Regions from separate parts of the Homo sapiens genome. Here all the other regions are linked to region 1. The links are contacts of gene promoters, found by promoter capture Hi-C in blood cells and fetal thymus (Javierre and others, 2016). All regions are on one chromosome and are shown on one strand. The core of a region is centred on a gene start or on the middle of the fragment in contact, and the rest is flanking DNA. Distances in the headings are between cores, read along the strand shown.

Region 1 (4,316 bases), core at 1,381-3,880:
GAAACTCCTTTTTCTCATGGAGCTTACAATGTTGATGCCAGTGGCAAACGAGTTGACCCATTGTTACGTGGAAACAAATGGTATGAAAAGAACCTGGGGTAAGCAGATGGAAGAAGGGAGGAAGTGTTTGCGTGCACAAAGGCGCCATTTTACATAGGGTGTTAAGGGACACCTTCTAAAGATAAATAGGGGCAGGGGTCGCCGATGTATGGGGAAAAGCTTTCCGAGGAGAGCAAACACCAAGGGCAGAGTCCTGGGGAGGGTAAGCATGCTTGGAATATTTAAGGATCCAGACGGATTCCACGGGGGTGCAGCCAAGTGGGCTGTGGGAGGAGAAGGACATAAGGTCAGTGATGCACCAGGGGCACACCTGTCGTCTTGCAGGACTTGGTAAGCTCTTCGGATTTTTTCTTTCTTTCCTTTTTTTTTTTTTTTTTTTTGAGATAAGAAACCATTGAGGGACTGTCAGGAAATGAGGTGATCTACATAGATTTGAAAAGGTAACCTGCCAGGCACGTGGCTCACGCCTGTAATCCCAGCACTTTGGGAGGTTGAGGGGGGCGGATCACCTGAGGTCGGGAGTTCGAGACCAGCCTGACCAACATGGAGAAACCCCCGTCTCTACTAAAAATACAAAATTAGCTAGGCGTGGTGGCGCATGCCTGTAATCCCAGCTGCTCGGGAGGCTGGGGCAGGAGAATCACTTGAACCGGGGAGGCAGAGGTTGCAGTGAGCCGAGATCGCGCCATTGCACTCCAGCCTGGGTGACAAGAGCGAAATTCTGTTTCAAAAAAAAGAAAATTAACACACAGTAGCTATTATCAAATGCTGTAACCGTAAGTGATTTAATACATAGGAAATGAAAATTGCCTATCATTGTTCTTTAATCTGGTTTAAGTGGTTGAGCCTTATGACACTGCCATTTCTATGGGTCAAAAATGGTGGAATATTGTCATAAAATTCAACCTGATTTAAAGGATAGGGCAAGGAAAAAAAGCAAAAAAAAAAAAAAAAGCTTTAGAATAAAATATAATTGGATTATAATCCCAGACACAGGACTCACTAGCTATATTCTTGGGCAAGTTACTTAACTTCATCTTTCTTGGGTTTCCCCTTATTTGTAAAATGGGGATAACAGTCTAACCTAAGCCCAAGTTGTACTGATGATTAAACGAGATATGCATGTAGGGCATTCAGCATAGTGCCTAGGAGCTTAATAAATAAGCAGGCCATTAAGAAGGGGATTGCATCTTTTACACTAGCAGCATCAAAACCTTGATTTTGATTTTTCTAGGTACTGAAACAGCCTTCATTACTTAGAGACCATAGCTTTTTTGCAAGTTACTATTCCCTGCATTTAGAAAGTTCATCTTTAAACAGGCAATTCAGTAAGTAAATATTCTATGGCTCTAAAACAGATACGGCTGTTGGAGACTTTAAAACATCTGACAGTTACATTTTTAATGTTGTCTACCAAGGCTATTACATTTCCTCTGTCAAAGTAACTTAATTTTAAAAACGAACTCTGTGCTTGTTAAACGAAAAGGCCAGAAGGCTACTGGCTACTCAGCGTTCATTTGAAATTCTTATAGTGCCTTCAGTACAATTCAAACTTAGAGGTGATTCTCACAATTCATGTGAAGCAACATTTTACAAAAAAAATCACCTACGTTCACTGTTAAGTCAGAAGACAGAATGATTAACAAAATCTCAGCCGCGAATTACTCTCACGATGGCCAACTGGATATTAAATAACTCTGCATTATTTTAATGGAATGTTATAAAGGATTTGCAACAAAATGCAGACGTAGATTTAGGGACTGCCGACTTCTATAGATCAAGGACTTCATTGGTGCAGCTGAGGAAATTCTTCCAAACAAGTCTAAATGTTGGAAATCCACCAAACTGCAGAGAAAGACCTCTTGCCTCCGTATTCTTTCTTCATCTGTAAAAATGTTGACTTCTGCTTTTCAGACTACGCGCACAGCCTCTTTATTTCCTACTGCGGCTTCATTCCCTCACGGAACACTGACGCCATCGCGAAGGAAGCATTTCGAGCACGACTGACGCTCCCCTTATTATTTGCTAAGCCGCTGCGCTCGGGTCTGGCTACGATTTGCTTTCAGAATAACGGGAAGGTGCAACAAGATCGCTTCCCTAGAGGCGCGTCGCCCGCGTGGCCCGGACCCCCCACGCCCGCCCGCCGCCCCGTGGGTGCGCACGCGTGTCCGCGCAGGCTTCCCGCCTGGCGAGTGCAAGGCTCCTCTCCGCCGTGCTGCTTTCCAGCCTCTCAGCAAATCACGAACACCGAAAGAAGCCACGGCGGCGACGGGAGGGGCGTCGCGCGTGCTTCCCTCGGCGACAAAGCGGGAGCCGGGCGCGCCGGCCGAGGGCGCCCGGCGCAGAGTCCCGCAGAGGCGGACGCCGCGGCACGCGCCTCGAAAAGCCTCAAACTCTTATCCTCGGCTCTCCCGCCCCACCTCCGCCCCGCAGCCAAGACCCGCGCCGTGGCGGGCCCGACGGCCAAGGAAAGCCCACCAGCCCTCCGCACCGTGGGCGACGGGCCAAGACCCGGCCCTAAACGGCCAGACCCAGCCCCTAGTCGGCTGCCGCCCCCGCCCCACGCAGGCGCGCTCCGGGGCCCTCCCCTCCCCCACCGCGCGCTCGCGGGGCCCGACGGGGGCGGAGCGACCCTCGGAAGGGGCGTGGCGACCGGGCTCGACGCGCGCACGCGCTCTGGAGCCCCACGGCTACGTGTCGGGCCACGTGATGCCCACCCCGAAAGTCCCCCGTGAAGCAACAGGACGTTAAAAAAAAATTTCTCTTCTGCGGGGTGGATAAGAGGTTCTGAAAAAACTATAGTAACGGGAGGCGAGGCGGAGGCAGCGCTGGCGCGTCCCGCTGGAATTCCTCTCGCCTGCCGCGCCAGCCCCGACCGCGCCCGCAGCCCCACCCGCCCCGTGCCGTGGAAAGCCCCGCGCCCCCCCCGCGGCCGTCGGCCCCGCAGCCCACACCCACCCGCCCCGGGCGCCCCGCACGGCGGCGACCCAGTCCTTGCGCCCAGGCCCGCCGAGCGCCGCAGTCCGTCACACTCCCGTTGCCCCCGTCGCCCGCCCCGCCGGGGAGGCAGGGAGGAGGGGGCGCGGCGCCGGCGGCTGCCCCGGTCGCGGGGCGGCGGGCAGCAGGCAGCGGGAGCGCGCCGGCCGGGACCCGCTAACGGCCGCCCTGCGCGGCCCCGCCCGCCGCCCGCCCCCGGCCCTCCCCGCGCCGCTGCCCCTCCCCCCGCCGCCGCCGCTGCTGCCGCCGCCGCTGGCAGCGCCGCCTGAACTGAGGCGAACTCCGCCGCCAAGTGAGTGAGGAGGAGGAGGAGGAGAAGGAGGAGGAGGAAGAGGAGGAGCGCAGTCGGAGCGCGGCGGCAGCGGCAGAGGCGCCGCGGCGGGGACCAGCCCAGAGAGACCCCCCGAGCCCGCGGCACAGGCGGCGGCGGCGCTGAGCGGGCTCGACCAGCCGAGCGAGCGGCGGCCCCGGCTCCTCCTCGTCCGGCGCCAGCAGCCCGCGCCCCGCGCCCGCACTCGGCCAGCCGAGACCCGCCTCCCGCCCGCCCGCCGGCCTCGTGAGGGACGCGCCGAGCCGGGCGGCCGAGAGCGGCGGCGGCTGGGAGCGCGTCGGGCCCGGGCGGAAAGTGCCTGCGGGGGGCGGGCGAGCGCGCGGTGCCGGCCGCCCCGGGGCTCGGCGCGGGAGCCAGAGCGGGAGCCGGCGCGGAGCGGGACGCCGGGTCCCGAGCGGCCCGCGGCCGGGGCTCGCCCCCGCCCCTCCCTCCTCTCCGGCGGCGGCGGCGGCGGCGGCGGGCGGAGTGAGCTGCGGAGCCTGGAATATGGTCGGGGAAATGGAAACGAAGGAGAAGCCGAAGCCCACCCCAGATTACCTGATGCAGCTGATGAACGACAAGAAGCTCATGAGCAGCCTGCCCAACTTCTGCGGGATCTTCAACCACCTCGAGCGGCTGCTGGACGAAGGTGAGCGTCTCCAGGGCCCCGGCCCCGGCCCGACCCCCGCCGGGGCGGCCCCTTTCCCCGCTTGGGATGGTGGGGAGGGCGGGAAGGTCACGGCCGGGCGGGACCGAGCGCCGGGGGGACTGGGAGGCCAGGAGGGCGCACAAAGGAGGTGCCGGGCCGGGCTTGCGGCGGGCGGGCGGGCCGGGGTGGACCCGCCGGTGCCGGACGCCCCCTGCCCGGCCGGGACCCCGCGCCGCTGGCGTCCAAGTTGGCGCGTTGCGGAGGGCTGCGGGGTGAGCCCTGCGGCCCCTCTAGCTTCGG
Region 2 (4,267 bases), core at 1,734-4,233, about 49 Mb before region 1:
CTAAGAAAATCTGACAATCGTTGGCTGCCAAGTAGAATTTCTATAATTTGCTGAAGAAGGAGTACGTTGGGAGGTATCATCTTGGTAACTTTTTTTTTTGAGACGGAGTTTCGCTCTTGTTGCCCATGGCACTATCTTGGCTCACTGCAACCTGCACCTCCTGGGTTCAAGCCATTCTCCTGCCTCAGCCTCCCGAGTAACTGGGACTACTGGTGCCTGCCACCACGCCTGGCTAATTTTTGTATTTTTAGTAGAGACGGGGTTTCGCCATGTTGGCCAGGCTCTTCTCAAACTCCCGACCTCAGGTGATTTGCCTGCCTCAGTCTCCCAAAGTGCTGAGATTATAGGCATGAGCCACCACACCTGGCCTAATCTTGATAACTTTTGTATTTATATAGTTTTATCTGTATACAGTCTTTGAGTGTTTTTTTCTGGACCACTTGTCTCCAAAACTGATTATGCATCCCTCTCAGAGGAGGAAAAAATAGAGCACAGAGAAATTTGTGTATAGTTACATAAATTAGGTATATAAACCCTATTATACTGTATACACCATAAAAACAAGCACTAAATATGTTTGGCCTCAAGATTAATTCAAAACAAAGCATAAACATGTCTAGATACAGTATTAAAAATGTGAGTGGTATAACTAGAGCCTAACACAGCTTAGCTGCTAATTATATTTAAGTAGAGAAAAATCACATCGTTTTAAGGCCCAGAAGGGATCTTAGTGACTATCTAATTAGCTGTATCATTTTACAGATTCTTGATGATCTTCTAGTGTATAAAGAAGGAACATGATTCAGAAGTATGTTTTTGGGAATTTGGAGGCATGGATCAATAGCTACAGTCAGAGAAGTAATAACTTCTCTTACTTTTCTTCAAAGGTTTAAGGATACCTAATCCATCAATGTCTGAAGGTTCCCTTGGGACCAACGTTTCAGTGACCTAAAGGGTTACCTGAAGATTACATAACGTGCAGAGAACAATATGTATATATTTAAAAGTTCTTTCATTAAGATGCAAACAGCCTCAGTGGCAGACATTCTGTGTGGCCAAGAGGCTCCGTGTGCCTAACAGCCCCAGGAAGCCTAAAGGTAGGATTCCTATGGTTATAGAATTTGCTACTTCCGTCCTTTTCTTTTTCACTCACTTTCTTCCTTCTACTTCCTTTACCAAGAAGTTAAAACCATCTAACCTAGGCTAGCAGATAATTCAGACCCTATTACTACAGATATAACCCATTCCCAATCCAATCCATGTTATATACCTTAAAGTCACGATTCTTTGATACAGAAGCTCCTTTCCTTGCATTCTCTTCTCACAATAAAAAAAGAATTAGTATTGCTACTTTTGTAAGCTGACAAAACAATGTTCTCTGGTAATAAAAATATAAGTTTTTGGATGAGGTCAGCACACTATCACATATTAATAATTAGCATAATATAAACATTAATAATCTCTGCAAAATATTTTAATTCCCTCCCACAAAAATTAAAAGAGTATGTGAAACATAAGCAACTAGGAACTCCACTTTAACAAACGAGTCACAGACAAAAGACAAAATAACCCACCAGAGATTTCCAAACTATCAGCTATTCACTTGTTGCTGGCCATCACGTAAGCAGGTGAATGGGCTACAATAAAGTATCATATTAAGTCACAATCACAAGACAAATATTTCCACCCTACTTATCAAGCTTGCATCCTTTCCCGGGTACCCGTGCCTGCTCCCATTCCCACAACGAAGGTTATCATAAATGGGCCCAGGACAAGAGCGCTGTTCAGAAACTGCTACTCAAGTGTACCCTCCTGGTTCTAGGGTTCCATTGTGGTGACAACAAATTACAAGCAGCTTACTTCCTCAGAGCCCATCACTACCAACACCAACTGACAGCTTCGAGAAGGACCTCAGTACCACTTTCCCTAACCAAAATTTTCCTCTTTACTCCAAGCCCTGACAAGGATAAATCTCTAAACTTTAGAAACAATGTAATTTTACAAATTAACTTATACGCAGGGTTACTTCCTTTCCAATTTGATCAGGGAATGCAGGGCAAGAATAACCCAAAATATGCAATGTAAATCATGTTGAAATTAAAATGTATTTCCATCTCCACCCCTCCACGATGGCATAATTTCAAATCAACTTATATAATGCATATCTAGTCCTCTGAAAAATCATTTTTAAAAGTAGGGCTGTTATTATTCTGTCCTAGCTATCGCAGATCAATTTAGATTTGTTCTGTAAGATTTCAGATTTTCCCCAAATGACACAGGTGGTTATTTTATATGTATCAGTCATTAAAAGATTAATCCTTTTTAACTAAAAAGAGACAGTACGGTCATTTACAAGTTAAAGTAGATTTATTCTGAGCTGGTGCTCTGGGGTCTTACTTCTCTAAAATTTTGTGATTTACAATACACCACATGTAGGAAACAGCTTCCAAAATTTGTATTGCTTCCTACAAATCAGACAGGACTTTCAGGAGAAGGAGCCTAGGATAGATTCTCTGTTAAATTTTGGAATCCCTTCTCTCAAGAGTAACCTACTATAAACTATTTACCAAGCCTTTGTGAAATCTGTATAACAGGTTACTACTCCATTGAGCAAGAAAACACAGGAAACAGGATTCGAAGATTTAATGTTACTGCTCATACTCCAAATTATAGAATGCTTAAGATAATTAAATTATCTGACTTTTATAATTCACTACACGGTGACCTCAAATTTACCTCATTAGAATATTTAGTACTTCTGCACTTCTCCCACTTCTCAAAGTTTTCCCATACCAGGATTCCCCACCACCTAGGAACAGCCTTTGCAAGATACCAATGCTCTCTAAATCCCCAAAGCAGGGTCTATTTCCTGATCGAACAAAGAGCAACAAAGAAGTGGGTGGTAACCACCTCTCTGAGGCAAGCCAGGACCCATGGAGTCTGATCTACAACACAAGCAGTAGCAGTTCCACATCTCCCTACCACCTCTTATTTCCTACGAAGTCTTTCTGCCTGAAACTGGAAAACCCGAACTATTATTGAGGAAGTGAAGCCCTTCCATTTGAATCCTGAGAAAGACGCGCTCAAAGAACCCAGCGAACAAAGGAGAGGGTTGGAGCCCACGCAAAACATGGGTGTGATAAAGCCACACGCGACCTGAGCCCCCACCCTCAGTAACTACTCTCCAGCGCCCACCGGGAGGAGGGGTCCGGGGAAAGGGTAAGCCGAGGAAGGAGAAGACGCTCCGGCCAGACCGAACGCAGGGTAGGGGAGGCGAGCAGGCGAGGAGGAGGGAAGGGGACGGGAGGGGCGGAGCTCTCGCGGCCGCGGGGCTTTGTGTAGAGTCAAGGCCGGGATAGAAATTTTGCCTCGCGGGGGACGGGTCGAGGGGGTAGGAGGCCGACGCGGGGCACCCCAAACCTGCGTTGCCACGAATGGTGGGCGGGAGAAGGGAGAGAATGGGCCGCCCCCTTCGCCGCCGCCACCACCAAGGCGGGGTAGGCCGGCGCCGTCCCCAGCGGCGGCCACCTTCGAGGCTGCGGACTGCACGGCCGAAGGGGGAGAGGCAGGAGACAAGACGGGCGGGCCCCCTGATTCCCGCCCGCAGGAACCGCGGGGGCTGCGCCAGGAAGAGGGTCTCGTTCTAACTGTGCCGGGCCGGGAACGGGTTAAGATGCGGCCAAATGTCGGTCCCTCCTCCTTCCCACCCCTCAGCCCCGGCGCCCACTCGCGACGGCAGCCGCGGAACCCAGCGCCCGGCCCCGCGCGCCCACCCCGACACCGGCCCGGCCGCTCACCGTCGTAGTAGTAGCAGACTTTTTTTTTGCCGCCTCCTTGACTGTACGCCATGGGCTCCCCGGCCACCGCCGCCACCGGGCTCCTCCTCCTGCTGCTGCTGCTGCTGCTGCTGCCGCCGCGGCTCGGCCGGGAGAGAAAAGGGCTGAGGGAAACGTGGGGGCGATAGTCCCGCGGGGAAGGGCAGGCCGGTGGGAGGAGAGGAGGGGGCGCCGGGAAGGCTCGGTACCACCCGGCAGAGGTGCCGAAAGCTCGGAATCGGAGGTGGCAGCGGCACCAACTCGCGAGGAGGGGGCCACCAAACCACCTCAGGAGGCCGCAGGGAGGTGAGCGCATCCACTGCGGCCTCCACGGGGGAGGAAGGGGCACGGCTGGAGAAGGAGGCCGTTTCGGGCTCGAGGTTAGAGGCCCTGTTAGGGTGAACAACCTGCGCAAGGCGGCGCCATACACAGTGTTAAAATGAGGAAGAAGA
Region 3 (4,493 bases), core at 1,718-4,217, about 50 Mb before region 1:
CCCACTTAAATGTTACTTATTTCAAAAGGCCTTCTTTAACCCTCCTAATGAAATTATACTATCTTATAGCACAAAATAGAACTTCAAATGGTCACATGTACTCCCTATTTTCGTTAAAAGTACATGTGACGGTTTAAAGTTATATTTCAGTCTGTGATCTCATTGTTAAATGCTGGCTTCTCCCCTCTCTTGTTAGGCTAGAAGCATTTGAGTGAGCCATCTGCATTATTAATTCCCTCACCTCTTCAAATCTGCTCGAAGTTTGTCTTCTCAATGAGGCCTTTCCCGGCCTATATGGAATTACATCTCAACTCTCCCCTGAACTCCCATCTCCCTTATTTTGCTTTAGTTTCCCCCACCACTCCACCTCTCCCACAACACTTACAGACTTCTAACATTTCATATAATTTGCTGACTTACATTTTTTTAACTTGTGCTTTTCTCCCCACCCAAGAATGTATGCTTTATAAAGACTTCTTGTCTGTTTTGTTCACTGACATATCCCAAATGCCTACTACATGATAGGAGTTCAATAAATGCTTGCCGAGTGAACTGAGGGGCTATGTCTGTTTTCCTCCCCACCACATTGCAAGCTAATCAATTTCTGTGGAATTAAATTTCAAGTAGCATAAAATCTAAGATGAAGGATGGAGCAGAACACTGCCTGCACAGTGGGATTGCATATGTTGTGAATGCATGAATGCTTCCAGGTGAAAAAGGCGTATTTAATTTGGAATCTACAAAGTGGCTGTCATCTTTTGTATTGTTTTTTAAGCACACAGTTAATCTTGTTTTTCTTTCTTTCTTCACATATTAAGAAGTTTTAAGAAATAATAATACAAATGTAAGCTGCATGAGAGGAAAGACCATGTCTATATTTGTCCCTGGTGTAAGCTGATGTCTAAAGCCTTTTTCCTCGCACTTAGGAGGACCTTAATAAATACTTTAAGAATGAATGACTGACCTACTGAGTGAATCTGTGCCATCAAGGGAAGATGGCAGCACTGGCAGTGGTGGAAAAAGCCAGGACTCAGAATCATCAAGGGGGCTGAGCTCTATTCGTGGCTCTACCATCTGAGAAATCTGGCAACGCTCTGGTGCCTATTTCTTCATCGTTGAGAGGGGGAAGCCAGGTGCTCCAGTTCAACTTCACTAGATGATCTTCTAAATTGGAAGCCCCTGAAGGTCAGAGACTGAGTTTATATTGTTCAATGATATGAAAACAAGATCTAGATTATTGTGTTTGGCACACTGGGCCCTCAAGATTTTGTGGAATGGTCTCTAAAATTCTTTCCAACGCTAACATTTTGCAGAAAAATAACAGGTCTCTTAAATAAATTGCTTTTTTTCTAAAAAGAAACCTATACACCGATTATTATTATCTTGCAAATATGTTAGGGCAGGGTGAAAGTGGAGTACAAATAAAAAATAAATGACCGTTTCTTCCTGCTGATTTGGTTACAGACACCGGTTTTACATTTTCACTATGAACTCTTGGGTTCTTTAGTCATATTTATATAAACACTTTTGGCGCTTTATTTGAAACCTTTAACTCTGCGTGTGAGAACACCAAACTCCTGAGGAGCGAGCCACACTTGCACTGTACTGCTTCCCTACTAGTTCCACGTTCTTGGCCTTCCTTCCCTGTCATTATGCAGGTTTTCAAGAAGAACCACAACCGTTTCCCATTTCCCAGCCCGTTCTTCCTCACCCATCCTCCGCCGGGACCCCCTTCCCTATAAGCTGAAGAAATCCCTTGCTTGGACGACGCTAGTCGCTGGGGGAGGTTGGGGAAAGGGTGGCCCAGCCCTCAGCGGCCGCCGGCAGCGCCCCCAAGGAGCCTCCGCCTGCCACTTGCTGGGGACTGTCGGCTTTCCAGCTACCGTAGAATGCGCTTGCGTATCAAAAAGAAATCATCTTTCTACTGTAAACTAGAGACCGAGACCGCTCGTGGGGAGGGAATCTATGTGTTTACACTTTTTTTTTTTTTTTTTTTTTTTTTTGCCCCGGAGCTGCTGCGGGAATTGATTGGCTCCCTTGCGCCCCTGACGCTGGGACTGTCCCCCCGCCGCGCCCCGCCCGCACCCCGCCCGCACCCCGCCCCCTCGCGCGGCCATCTGCTTCGCAGTCTGTCTCCCAGTCTCTCACTCGGCCCCTCTCCCCTCCACCACTCCCAGCCCCCGTCTCCCCCACCGTCACCCCCCAGCGCCGGCTCCGCCTCTTCCCCCTCCCCGGCCCAGTGCTCCGAATCTTCCCCGGCCGTTGCCAGGGAGACCAGCCGATACCAGGCAAATAGGCGTACCAGAAAGAAAAGGGGGGAAAGCTACACGGCAGCCTGGTAACAAAGGAGCAATAAAAGCAGCCCCCAAATGGAGGGCTAAGGACGCGTCTGGGAGAAAATCTGAAAGCGAGCTAGCAGTCACCCCAATTTAAAATAGGAGGGGGATGCGGAGGAAGGGGCATGATTCACGTTGGGGGTGGGGGGAAATCAAGAGCCTTAAATGGGCTTTTGGGAATCGCCTGGATGGTGGTGTCGGATCAGCCCAGTTGGCTTTTCAAGTTGGAACTGCTAATACAAGGGATTTGCGTCCATCCTGGCGGCTGGGGTCGTGGGCCAGGCCAGCGGGCTCTCTTAAGGGTAATAACACGTTTGCTGGCAAGATGCATTTCTACGGAAACGTCTTTACATCAGCTCTGGGGAATATGACCATGGTCGAATAATGCATCTGAAGGAACTGGACAGTGAGAAGACGAAGCTTCACGTAACAATGTTCAGCTTGGTGATTTTTAAAGCAACGCTTGAACAAAGAGTTACTGGCTTGAACCAACCGTCTTTTTCACTCAGAGTGTGACCTATTTCCCTACAATGAGCAGAAAATAAAACTGTTTGAGAATTCAGAGCCAGCACCAGGAGAAATGAACCATTCCCTCGACTGCTTCTCACCTTCATAAGCGAAAGATTATTCCTTGCAAGATCACCAAATGTAAACGAGAAAAGGTGGTCTGATTTTGCCACGAGTGAAAACTTTGGGAAGAAAATGCTTATTAAGCTGTTTCCTTGGTTCCCCTCACCCCTCATACTTTAAGTCAGTGCCTTGTCTCTCACGCACAAAAAGCGTCTGGTACTTCGGTGGCAAGGAGTGCAGTGACAGATGGAGGTATCCTGTGTACCATTATAGAAGGTTTTCCTCTAACCCAAGTTAGACTTGGAGAGCTCAGGGATCTTGCTATCTCTCAACATACAGAACATTTCTCCTTAGAACTGCAATCCGGTTTAGAATGTCATCGTTGCTGCTGCCTCCCTTCCTTTCAGGAGCACATTCGCCTGCGTGCGCACTCACACACACGTTCAAAAAGAGTCCATTCGATTCTGGCAGTAGGCTGAAAACGATCCATATTGACGCGAATAACATCCCAACTGTAAATATGGATTCGTCTACTCGAGGCTGTGTCTCATTTCACCATAGAGGAAAATTATGTCATTTAAAACAGTGATAAAACGCGAAGAGTTTCGATCTTCTGTAAATGGCTCTCACTTTGAATTGTGGGGGAAAAAAATCACTAATTGGGAATAGCCAGAGAAGGGGGAATTTGTTGAGCGCCCAAGGCCAATCTCAAAATATTTTATTTCATGCCAATGTGGGAGAGGGAAGGGAGTGTGGCTTCGCTGTTTGCCGCTTTTGCATTTTCCACATCTGGCCTACAGACCTAATTCTAACTTGCGATCTCGCTTGATGAAATTCGATCTTCGTGGTTTAAATACCTTTCAATTTGGGACGATTTAACCATTGCAGCAGTTCAAAAAACAAACCCTGAGCATTATCTGTAAAACCAATATGGAAAAAAGAAAGAAAACATGCTGCAAACACACAAATCGCAACCATTGTCTTTAACACTCGCATACACACACATACACATAAACACACGGAAAGATGGGGGAGGGGAGCGAGTGGAGAGAGAGAGACACACGGATATAGACCGACGAGAGTCAATGCGAGTCAAGTTAACGCTTTCTCCGCCCCGATGCACAAGTACCCCCCTCCCGTGTTAATTAATTCCAAACAAAGCAAGCCAATCAAGAAATGCATTATTATTTTCAAGCAGAGAGAGACGAGTGCCATGTATTTTTTAATTGATTTATTTATTTGGAGGACATTAATTCTCGGTCTGAGGCTGATTTTCAAACCGTTTGCAAAGCGCGGCTCCATTGTTCGCCAGGCGCGCAGACCCCGCCCCCTGCTTTGTGTGCGGCGCGCGGATTGGCCGACGCGCGCGGGGGCCGCGTCAGCGCCCGCGAGCCCATTCATCTGTGCACTTGGGCGTTGGACCCCGCATCTTATTAGCAACCAGGGAGATTTCTCCATTTTCCTCTTGTCTACAGTGCGGCTACAAATCTGGGATTTTTTTATTACTTCTTTTTTTTTCGAACTACACTTGGGCTCCTTTTTTTGTGCTCGACTTTTCCACCCTTTTTCCCTCCCTCCTGTGCTGCT

The links. The method cuts DNA at HindIII sites, captures the fragments that hold promoters and counts their contacts. A CHiCAGO score of 5 or more calls a contact.
Region 2: a fragment that was not itself captured here is called in contact with the fragment with the promoter of CAHM in region 1 in 3 of 17 cell types (total CD4 T cells, non-activated CD4 T cells and activated CD4 T cells); the score reaches 10.9 in total CD4 T cells.
Region 3: a contact is called between a fragment that was not itself captured here and the fragment with the promoter of CAHM in region 1, in 1 of 17 cell types (fetal thymus). The highest score is 7.7, in fetal thymus.

The regions. Positions count from the first base shown.
Region 1 is chr6:163,411,320-163,415,635 of GRCh38, forward strand. It overlaps CAHM (colon adenocarcinoma hypermethylated), which reads right to left and starts at 2,631. Exons shown (of 1, transcript NR_037593.1): 1 at 1,746-2,631. QKI (QKI, KH domain containing RNA binding) reads left to right here and starts at 3,399. Exons shown (of 8, transcript NM_006775.3): 1 at 3,399-4,016. The coding sequence starts at 3,875. LOC124901234 (basic proline-rich protein-like) reads left to right here and starts at 262. Exons shown (of 4, transcript XM_047419614.1): 1 at 262-390; 2 at 1,295-2,766; 3 at 2,930-3,349; 4 at 3,646-3,857. The coding sequence starts at 1,887. The coding sequence ends at 3,857. RefSeq lists silencers at 2,038-2,817, 2,908-3,727, 3,978-4,027, 4,228-4,316 and enhancers at 2,651-3,303, 3,304-3,957. The HindIII fragment of the contact is 4,236 bases long and covers 1,014-4,316 here.
Region 2 is chr6:113,967,060-113,971,326 of GRCh38, forward strand. HDAC2 (histone deacetylase 2) reads right to left here and starts at 4,089. Exons shown (of 14, transcript NM_001527.4): 1 at 3,798-4,089. The coding sequence starts at 3,849. HDAC2-AS2 (HDAC2 and HS3ST5 antisense RNA 2) reads left to right here and starts at 2,642. Exons shown (of 10, transcript NR_125845.1): 1 at 2,642-3,219. RefSeq lists silencers at 3,230-3,549, 3,760-4,059, 4,001-4,267 and an enhancer at 3,606-4,267. The HindIII fragment of the contact is 2,571 bases long and covers 1,699-4,267 here.
Region 3 is chr6:113,853,034-113,857,526 of GRCh38, forward strand. MARCKS (myristoylated alanine rich protein kinase C substrate) reads left to right here and starts at 4,312. Exons shown (of 2, transcript NM_002356.7): 1 at 4,312-4,493. RefSeq lists a silencer at 2,067-2,276 and enhancers at 3,067-3,126, 3,147-3,196, 3,467-4,012, 4,013-4,493, 4,344-4,393. The HindIII fragment of the contact is 426 bases long and covers 2,755-3,180 here.